3 separate regions of the Homo sapiens genome follow, and regions 1 and 2 are each linked to region 3. The links are contacts of gene promoters, found by promoter capture Hi-C in human tissues and cell types (Jung and others, 2019). All regions are on one chromosome and are shown on one strand. Each heading gives the region's core, a stretch centred on a gene start or on the middle of the fragment in contact. The rest is flanking DNA. Distances are from core to core; before and after follow the strand shown. Region 1 overlaps FHOD3 (formin homology 2 domain containing 3). Region 2 overlaps FHOD3 (formin homology 2 domain containing 3). Region 3 holds the start of FHOD3 (formin homology 2 domain containing 3).

What was found. The method cuts DNA at HindIII sites, captures the fragments that hold promoters and counts their contacts. A contact is called where the count stands out against the background at its distance.
Region 1: a fragment that was not itself captured here is called in contact with the fragment with the promoter of FHOD3 in region 3 in 3 of the 25 tissues and cell types used here (hippocampus, mesendoderm cells and thymus).
Region 2: a contact is called between a fragment that was not itself captured here and the fragment with the promoter of FHOD3 in region 3, in 1 of the 25 tissues and cell types used here (aorta).

The regions. Positions count from the first base shown.
Region 1 is chr18:36,530,456-36,533,671 of GRCh38, forward strand. All of the region lies in intron 5 of FHOD3 (formin homology 2 domain containing 3), which reads left to right. Among named protein-coding and RNA genes, the nearest start is that of FHOD3, 230 kb to the left of the region's middle. The HindIII fragment of the contact is 6,512 bases long and covers 1-3,216 here.
Region 2 is chr18:36,439,380-36,442,240 of GRCh38, forward strand. The region is part of intron 3 of FHOD3 (formin homology 2 domain containing 3); the gene reads left to right. Among named protein-coding and RNA genes, the nearest start is that of FHOD3, 140 kb to the left of the region's middle. The HindIII fragment of the contact is 3,315 bases long and covers 1-2,861 here.
Region 3 is chr18:36,296,034-36,299,210 of GRCh38, forward strand. FHOD3 (formin homology 2 domain containing 3) reads left to right here and starts at 1,680. Exons shown (of 29, transcript NM_001281740.3): 1 at 1,680-1,967. The coding sequence starts at 1,803. RefSeq lists an enhancer at 526-1,503 and silencers at 1,443-1,732, 1,853-1,922. The HindIII fragment of the contact is 5,975 bases long and covers 1-3,177 here.

The DNA.
Region 1 (3,216 bases), core at 127-2,626, 230 kb after region 3:
GGCACAGAGGACTTGTGTTTGTGAGTGATTGTTGAGAGAATGAGTGAGTGTAATGATGTGAGATCCATCCATGCTGGTATCATGGCTCTCGCCTGTCCATTTTCACTGCTGGGTAGTATTCCGTTGTATGGATGTACTGCAATTATTTATTAGTTCTCTGGTTGGTCCACATTTAGGTAATATCCAGGTTTTTTGAGTTGCAGACAATGCCAGCATGCACATTCTTGTTGTATTTCCTTGTGCATCCATGTGATTTTCTCTAGGATTTACCTAGGGGTAGAATTGCTGGTCAAGGGGTTATTCATAATGTTCTCATAACATACTGTGTATTTTCCAGCCCGGGTTAGAACTGCTACTTCTGAACACAGGAGTCTTGCATTCATCCTGGGTTGCTTCTTAGTAGCTGGGGCTTTTGTTCTTAGTCTTGTTCTCCCTGAGGCCCCTGCGGTGAGTGACTGTGTGACTGAGATGACTGGAGACTTTGGGCTGGGAAAAGACTTTTCCTTGGCCTATTTCCACTGGTCCCCAAGGGTCTTGCCTCTGTGACCATGGTTGAATTAGTTCAGTGTCCAATGGCTGGCCTGGCTGGACACAGGATGTTAGAGCCAGAAGGTGCCTTAGAGGCCTCCTACTCTAACCTCATTTTGCACATAGGGAAATTGAGGTCTAGAGGGCTCTGGTGACTTGCTGGTGGTTTTGTGGCTGGACAGTGATCGAGCTGTAGATGTAACCCAGCCAGAGTGCTTTCTGCATCATGAACAGAAGGAAGACCCATCTGTGAAGGATGCAAGCAGTCACTGTCTCCATCTGTGCATCACTGGGCCTGCCACATGACCATGGCCCAGTGCCTGCAACCCACCCCTGCTCCCTCCCGAGGGATGCTCTTCTTTCCCCTTTGATAACCTTGGCTTTGCAGTTTGTCCCTTTGCTTTTTCTTTCAACTGTGCCCCTTATTTCAGCCCTCACAGTCACAGCCATTCCTGTCCAAAACACTCTAGTGGTTGAGACCCTTCCCCGATCCTGAGCTGCCCCTCCATGTTCTGCCTGCTGGCCCCATCTTGCCTCCCTTCCTAAATCACAGAAAAGCTCAACTGGGCTCATCTGGAGGGACAGAATGCCTCTGGGATGCATTTGCAGTACCTAAGATTACATGGACTCACTGATTTCAAAGGAGTCTGTTTGATACGAACAAACATTGCTTTAATGCCATATGGATACAGCAGAAGTCACAGGAACAGCTTATAGACTGAATAAGTCTGAAAAACTGTCTCCAAAGTGGAACTCTCTGGGACTGGCTCTTCCTCCAGCTCCTGTCCCACGTCTTCCGCTGTCTACAGCCTGCGGTCCTCTCGGAGGCAGGATGCTTGACACCAGAGCAGTTTGCCCACAGGCAGGCTGGCTCCTGCCTGGGCTATTCCTGTGCGTGTCACAGTCTCCCCAACTCTCTCCTGCCCTGCCCAGCCCAGCACCTCTGCATTCCCTTTATCCTTTTGCCGAGTCTTGTACTTTCTTTTGAAATATCTTTCATTTCCATTTCTTTCCCTCTGCTCTCCTGCCTGCCCTCAGCCTCACTGCTGGCCTGCTTCTGTTCTCTGCACAGCTGCCTCTGGAGAAAATCTCCCTGCGGCGTGGCTTTCATGCAGCCATTGGAGGAAAACCCTAAGTTCCTCCCAGGCCTCAAGTTGTACCTCTTAATGTTTATTCTCCATAACCGTAATTTGGAACATCAGCAAGGCTCTGTGATTTCTAGACTTGGAGTACACCAAGAAAGTATGGAGTATCTCTTTCTCAGTGAGTGTTCGGGGAACACAGGGCAGTGATTGCCACAATCCAGTCTTTAGTCTTGGTCTGTGTGTTTAGGAAACTCCAGGACCCATACGCTCCTCTTCCCTGGCCACTTCCCTCAAGTCTCACCCTCCCTGGAAGAGAGAAGGAAGAAAAGGGACATCCATAGTGGCTTCTGTGGCACCTGGGGGACAGGGGACCAGTGGAGGTGTCTTTGGGCTGTCATGCCCATAGGAAGAGCTGCTGTGGCTACTGGTACTTGTGCTCAGCCTGGCAGAGGGAGCTTCTGGTTTCCTTCCCCATCAGAAATATTTCTGAGTCTCCTGTCTACTCTACTCTTGGCAGGAGAATGGAAACCGAAGCTCTTCCAAGAACCCTCATGAGTCATCTCAGATCCTTCCCAACCCTCTTTGTGTGAAGAATCAGTAGTTACCACGTGTTGTTCCACAAATCCTGGGTTCCCTCGGAGACCCACCGGGTCCCACCCACACCTGGAAGCAGAGAAATCACCCTCTAACCTCAACCGCAGAACATCCAGTTTTACCTGTTTGAGATTTTGAGATTGCATGGAGAGTTCTTTTGGAAAAGGTTCCATTAAAACGTTTAAAGGCAAGAAACCATTGTTAGAGGAGATGAAATAGTGTCTCGTTGTGTCATTCAAGGCCCTTCCTAACGTGGTCTCTACCATGTCCATGTTTGATTGACTTGCTGTCCCCAGCGTGATGCCCCATTGGGTGGCCTGCCTGCCTGGGCTTCCCACAGTGGGAGGGGCTTTGTAAGGATCCAGGTGAAGCTGAGCCACTTGGCCCTCTGCACAATATTATGCTTCCTCGAGGCCACAGACATGGTGGGTCTACTGGAGCTTCAACACATGAAGGACCTTAGAACTTGAACTGGGCTGTTTATAGAAGATAGGCAGCCAGATGTTAGTGCTTGGAACTCAAAATTCTCAGAGGCACAGTTTCCTCATCTGCAAACCAGGCATGATGAAAGTATCCTCCTGATAGTTTGGTGTAGTGTTAAATAGATGAGCATGTGCGACGCATTTGGATGCATCGCGGCTTGTAGTGAGGGCTGTGGCAGTGTCTGCCCTACTACTAACACAGCTAGAAGGGACAGGGCTGGGACAGAGAAGGTTGTGCTGGCCAGGTCCTAGAGGCCTTCCTCTGCTATGTCCTGAGCGTGTGCTCTTCAAGGGGCATGCTGCTGAAGCAGCCCTTCTCCAAAAGTGCTTGTCCTCAAAGTGGATGGTGAGTTGTGGTGCTGTAGGTGGCATGGAATGGACTCAGAGGGGCCGGCTGCTGTTATATGCCCAGCTGCTCTTGAAAAGGTCTGAGGGCCTTTTTAATGGTCTCCCGATGAGCTTCGTAAGGATCAATGACTTTGATAACTGGGCAGGTGGGTGGAACTGCGGAATCTGGAGGCCTTCTG
Region 2 (2,861 bases), core at 190-2,689, 140 kb after region 3:
ATTTAGCAGAGGAGTCAATGACTATTTGGGTAATGAATAAATGAATCCTCCCACACTCTAGGACTAAATCAGCACTTGTCAAATCTGAATGTGCATGTGACTGTATTAGTCAGGGCTCTCTGGAGAAACAAAACCAATAGAATGTGTGTGTGTGTGTGTGTGTGTGTGTGTGTGTGTGTGTGTGTGTGTATGTATGTAGTTACATAAGAGGAGACTTTTTATGTGATTATGAAGCCCAAGAAGTCTCATGATCTGCTGTCTGCAAGCTGGAGACTCAGGAAAGCCAGTGGTGTCATTGAGTTTGATGGCCAAGAACCAGGGGAGTGGGCAGTGTAACCTCTCAGTATGAGGCCATAAGCCTGAGAACCTGGGAGGTAGCTGGTGTTAAGTCCTAGAGTCCAAAGGCCTGAGAACCTGAAGCTCTGATATCCTAGTGCAGGAAAAGATGGATGTTCCAGCAGAGAAAGCATTTGCCCTCTTCGATTCTTTTGTTCTATGTGGTCCCTCAATGGATTAGATGATGCCCTCCCCATCCCCACAATGGTGAGGGGGCTCTTCTTTACTCAGTCTACAGATTTAAATGTGAATCGTTTCTAGAAATGCCCTCACAGACACACCCAGAAATAATGTCTTACTAGCTGTCTGGGTATCCCTTAGCCCAGTCAAGTTGACACTTAACCTCCACCATCTTAGTGACTCTTCTAGGGATCCTGTTAAAATGTAGGTGATGTTTTAGTAGGTCTGTACCGGTAGGACCAAGGTTCTTTGTTTCGAATAAGCTCCCAAGTGATGCTGATGCTGCTGGTCCAGGGACCATCCTTTGAATAGCTAAGGAATAAACTACCCAAAAAACAAGGGGAGCACTCAAGCTCGGGCAGCCATCCAATGAGCACCGGCCCAGCTGTCATCTTCTGCAGCAGAAGCAGGCGCAGGGCACTTCAGGAAGCCTTTCCACATCCGCCTGGGGAGAGCCTTCTCTTCCTGACAGAGGATGTGGCTGCTGATCTCCCACTCCCCTTCCTTATTTGAGGAGCTCCTTGAAAGGGCCACACGTCGGGGAGGGAAAGGGCGTGGGGCACTGTCCCAGCTGGACGCGCTGCCCGCCTCCTCTGAGTCTGCGTTGGTCAAATGAAGGGGCTCCTCCGGGCCTCCACGGCCCTCCCACTGCTCATATTCTGCCACCTGTGCCTGCTCCTCTGACCACCAAGCCCCCAAGGGCCACCAGTGCTGCTCCAGGACTCTGAAGATTATCTTGAGGCAGGAGTGGTGGAGGCCAAGCTTTGAAATTTTTCTTAATGAACCTAAGCACCTTTATGGTAGAAAAAACCCAATACATAATAAACTCTATTAATATCTCCCCACATAATCAACATAGTTCACATGCTTGTCATTTTTAAATGGCTCAGTAGTCGCATTCCCTTAGCTTGCCTGGATAGGCCATGTGTAGCCATTCCTCTGAGGCTGGGCACTTGGCCCATCTCTATTTTTTTTCCTCTTGTATTTTAAATGGTGGGGCTGTGACTATCTGCTGAGATTATCTCCACCCGCCACCCTCCTGCCCTGCTATTGCCTTGGATAAGCTTTTGCAATTGGCAGGGCACCCAGTTACATGGTCTTAGAGCATGCTATACTTTTTGCTTTTTTATAATATTTTCCCCAATTGCATGGTTGTGTGTGTAAGGTCATTCTCTCTTATAGATTCCTCAGTTCCAGGAGGATAGTCTCTTCCTTTCTCTCTTTGTCTTTGCAACATTCTTCGCAGCTAGAATATTGCCCAGCAAGCAGGAGCTCAGTAAAAATGGGTGAGGTGAGCAGGTATATGCCCCAGAGCTGGATGTTGAGGTGTGCTTCCCACAGGCTGCACCTGCCCACCAATGCGAGGTGAGGACCTGCATGAGCCAGGCATTGTCAGACCCTGGGCAAATTCAGAAGGGTGGGCATGAACCCTGCTTTCTGAGGAGAAAGGGGTGGTCAGTGGCCAATTCTACTTTAATGTGGTAAGTGCCAGAAAATGTGGAAGCTCAGAGTTGTACGGGAACATAGAGGATGAGGACGAGGCTGAAGCTGGAGTCTACAGGAAGTGTGACTGGAGACAGGGAGGCCAGAATTGGGTCCAGAAGGCTTCAGGAGGTTTTCTAGGAGGCCTGCTGCAGACTGCTGGACGTCTCTGTGGCTGTTGTAGTGGGCAGAGTCCCTGCTGGCAGAATTCTTAGCTTTGTGTCTGCTGGTAGGCTCCTTCTTATTTTTAAGCTTATGATAGAGATGATATGCTGGGAAACCACATGTTACAGGGAAGCTTCGCACAAACAGCTGTGCTGTGTAATTGCCGTGATGCTCCTTAATTATAGACATCACAGCCAAGTGCCATCTCTTCATCACATTTTAGACGCAGTGCCTGCCCCGTGGAACAAAATGTACCTCCTCATGGAATCGTGGACTCACTGAATTTGGTTGGTAGTGCTAGAAGGAACCTTGCTCAAGTTACAGTGACACGTTGCATGATTTTTTTAAAAAGCCCCAAAAACAAAATTAGAAAAGTCAAGTCAAATTATGCTAAGTTAGGATTTCTGACTTTAGTTCATGAAAGTCCGTGAATAAAGCTTTGGAATAGAATAATAAATTACTGATTACAGACTGTTTCCTCTATGAGTCATAGTGAGAGAGTGTTATTATTTTTCACAATTTAGAAGTGTCATTGCCAAAGACTGGAATACTTAGGAACTTCCAGACACTGGACATTCCATGTGTTCTGAGAATGCCCCCTCCCTGCTCCCCTTCTCCCAGATTCCCTTTCCCCATTGCTCTGTTTCATGTAATGTGTTTGCAAGGTTGTGGCTCAAACTTCCTTTAAGTATGTGGCA
Region 3 (3,177 bases), core at 430-2,929:
GATCAGGGGTCCCTAACCCCGCGGCCGCAGACCGGTACTGGTCCGTAGCCTGTTAGGAACCGGGCCACACAGCAGGTGAGCGGCCAGTGAGCGAGCATTACCGCCTGAGCTCCGCCTCCTGTCAGATCAGCGGAGGCATTAGATTCTCATGCCAGAGAGAGCCCTATTCTGAACTGCGCATGCGAGGGATCTAGGTAGCGCGCTCGTATGAGAATCTAATTCTTGATGATCTGAGGTGGAACAGTTTCATTCTGAAACCATCTGCCCTTCCTCCCCCAAACGCCCCCCACCCCCACCCCACCACTGTCCGTGGAAAAATCGTCTTCCACAAAACCGGTCCCTGGTGCCAAAAAGATTGGGGACGGCTAATCTAGAGGATTCATTCAAAGAGTTAAATAACAAAGAAAGTAGAGCTAGAAGTTCGTCTGGAAGGAGCGGAAGTGTCGTGGAATTATTATTTTAAGATCAGGCATAAGTGTGTATGTGTGGCAGGGAGGGAGATCACGGAGAGGGAGAGGTTAAAGATGTGGGTGAGGCTGCTAAATAGGGATAAGGGTTTCTTTTCCCTTGAAACCAGAGGAAAGGGAGATAGACGCGTTATAGAGTCGCCTTGAAAACACTCGGATGTTAAGAGAGACTGGGTGTTATGAGGGCGATCTATATAAGGGGGGAGGAACCAGGAACTTGGCTGTGGCCTGGGAATAGGGAGAACCGTGAATTTTTCTTGAAAACGAAGGGGGTCGCCCGTGAGCAGCGAGGAGAGCGGTGGGAGGCAGCGCCGAGTCTTGCCGCTCCCGCCTGGCAGGGGCGGGCAGGACGCAAACCTTCCTTCCCAGTCCCTCGGTTACCAGGGCATCCCCGGCTCTCTGCAATTCGGGAACCTTGCCAGAAGGGCTCCCACCTCCCCAAGCCCCCGCGGCCCCACAAGGTCCAATTAGGGCTTTCGGCGGCCTAACTGGGGAGAGGCCGTGGTGATGCAGAGGTTTAACCAGCATCCGCCGGGAGCCCCGGGGTCCAGGCCCGGCGCTGGAGTCCCGCAGCGAAGCCTCGCAGCCCCCACGCCTCTCGACTCTAGGCTTGTGCCCTAAAAGCGGCCTGGGTTCCCTGGCGCACCCTCCTCTTTCTTAGCTTCTTTGTCCCTAAGGGAAACCTCCCCGTACCCTTAGGTGGGGCTCCCGGTCACTGCCACCACCCCTCTTGCTGCCGAAGCCGGCTCCCTGGCCACCTGGTGCCCTGCCGGGGTATTCCAAATCTGGGCAGCAGAAGCCGGCCGCCGCCGCCTTCATCTGGAAAGGCTTAAGCCTTCTCCGGGTGGGGAAGAAGTCAGAAGGCCGCCTGTCTCCCCGTCCCCCAACCCCCCAACTCCCCAACTCGGTCCTCCAGGCTCCGAGGGGTGCAGCTCGGCCCTGGGCCGCGGGGCGCACGTGCAGCAGAGTCCGGCCGCCCGGCCTCCCCGCCCCGCCTCCGCCGCCGGCCTTTGGCGCAGGGCTGCGGATGCCGCGCGAGCCGTCTCCTTTGCACTTTCCCGGCTGCGGTCCGGTCGTTCGGGGCAGCCCGGCCGGGGGTAGAGGACCCGGAGGAGGGGAGGAGCCGGAGGGAGAGGGGAAGGAGGGGGCCCGCCGGCCCCGCCCCCGCCCCGCCCCCCGCGGCCGGAGCCCGGGCTGCAGCCCGGCGCGCCTGAGCCTGCGAGTCCGCGAGCCAGCGAGCTGCGGCTGCGGCCTCCCCTGCGCGCAGCTACCCGGGCGTCCCGGCCCGCGGCCCCGCTAACCCCGGGGCCCGCGCCCCCGCGGCAGGGATGCATCATGGCCACGCTGGCTTGCCGGGTGCAGTTCTTGGACGACACGGACCCTTTCAACAGCACCAACTTCCCCGAGCCCAGCCGGCCGCCGCTGTTCACGTTCCGCGAGGACCTCGCGCTCGGCACCCAGCTGGCGGGGGTCCATAGGCTGCTGCAGGCGCCGCACAAGGTACGACCCGGCGGGGTGGGCTGGGCCCCCTGGACTCAGCCCCCTGCCGCGGTGCGCGCCGGGGTGGGTCCCGGGGCTTCGTGGGCCCCCTGGGCTGGGCTGGGCGCGGCCCGGGGGGACCATCGCTCGAGGGCAAATCCCCCTCCCCGTTAGACAGAAGGGCTCGAGGCACCCGCTGGTTGGCGCAGGACCCTCCGGGGCGGGCGGGAAGGAACAGCTAGAGCCGGGGGCGGGCGTGGCAGAGCAGGTGCCGAGCCGGTCCGAGGCGGGATGGAGAAGGCTCCCCCGAGCCGCGCCGTTAGCTCGGCCGGGTGGGCGGGGTGGGGCTAGGACGCGGGCAGTCGGCCTCGGCACTCGGGCGGGCACCAAGCGGGGCGCGGGAAGAAGCGGAGCGCCGCGAGACTCAGGTCCCTTGGAGAGGAGAGCTCTGAGCGACGGCCGGGACAAAACCTCCCTCAGGCCTCTGGGGCCGCTGCGGGCGGCCACGCGACCCTCGCGACAAAGCACGCTTCCCGGCGACACCGCCTCCTCCTTCCCCCGGGGGCGCCGCCGGGGACGCCGGCCGCACACTGCGATAGCGCTCAGGGTATCCCCCTTTTCTTCTGAGAAGCAGGTGGCCTTGGGAACCTCGGAGGAGCAGTCGCTGTGGGAGGAGGGGCGGGGGCGCGGAGGGGCGGCGCGCTCACAAAGCCTCAGCTTGGCAGCCCGAAATGAGTGTCCCCTGGGAAGAATGGCTGCTCAGTCTACCCGTTAGAGAGGTTTTTTTTTTTTTATTTGTTATTTTTATTTAAATAAAACCTTTTGCAGGAGGATAGGCCTCTTGCAAAGCATTTGTTGCAAAGAGGTGGGTATTGAAAGCTAATCATTTCGTTACCTAGGAAAACCCTTACTCTCACTTAGACAGATTGAATGCAGCTTGCAAAATTACCTTCCCAGTATTTTTTCTGCCTAGGATTCATATCAAAGCTTGGAGATGATTTATTTCTTGAGGGTCGACATTAACACATATTTGGAAGAGATAAGCGTTGATGCCCAAAAGAACAAAATTGATTTAAAAAAAAACCTCGGATTTCTGTATGATGTTGACCTGCTTTGCAAGTAGAGGAGGAGGTTGGTTGTGTGAGGAAACTGGTGGACTTTAGCAGTGGTAGTTTCCTCTCTATTAATGTATCAGTGCTTTCCTCCTCTACTTAGTTAGTAACGTTTTCAG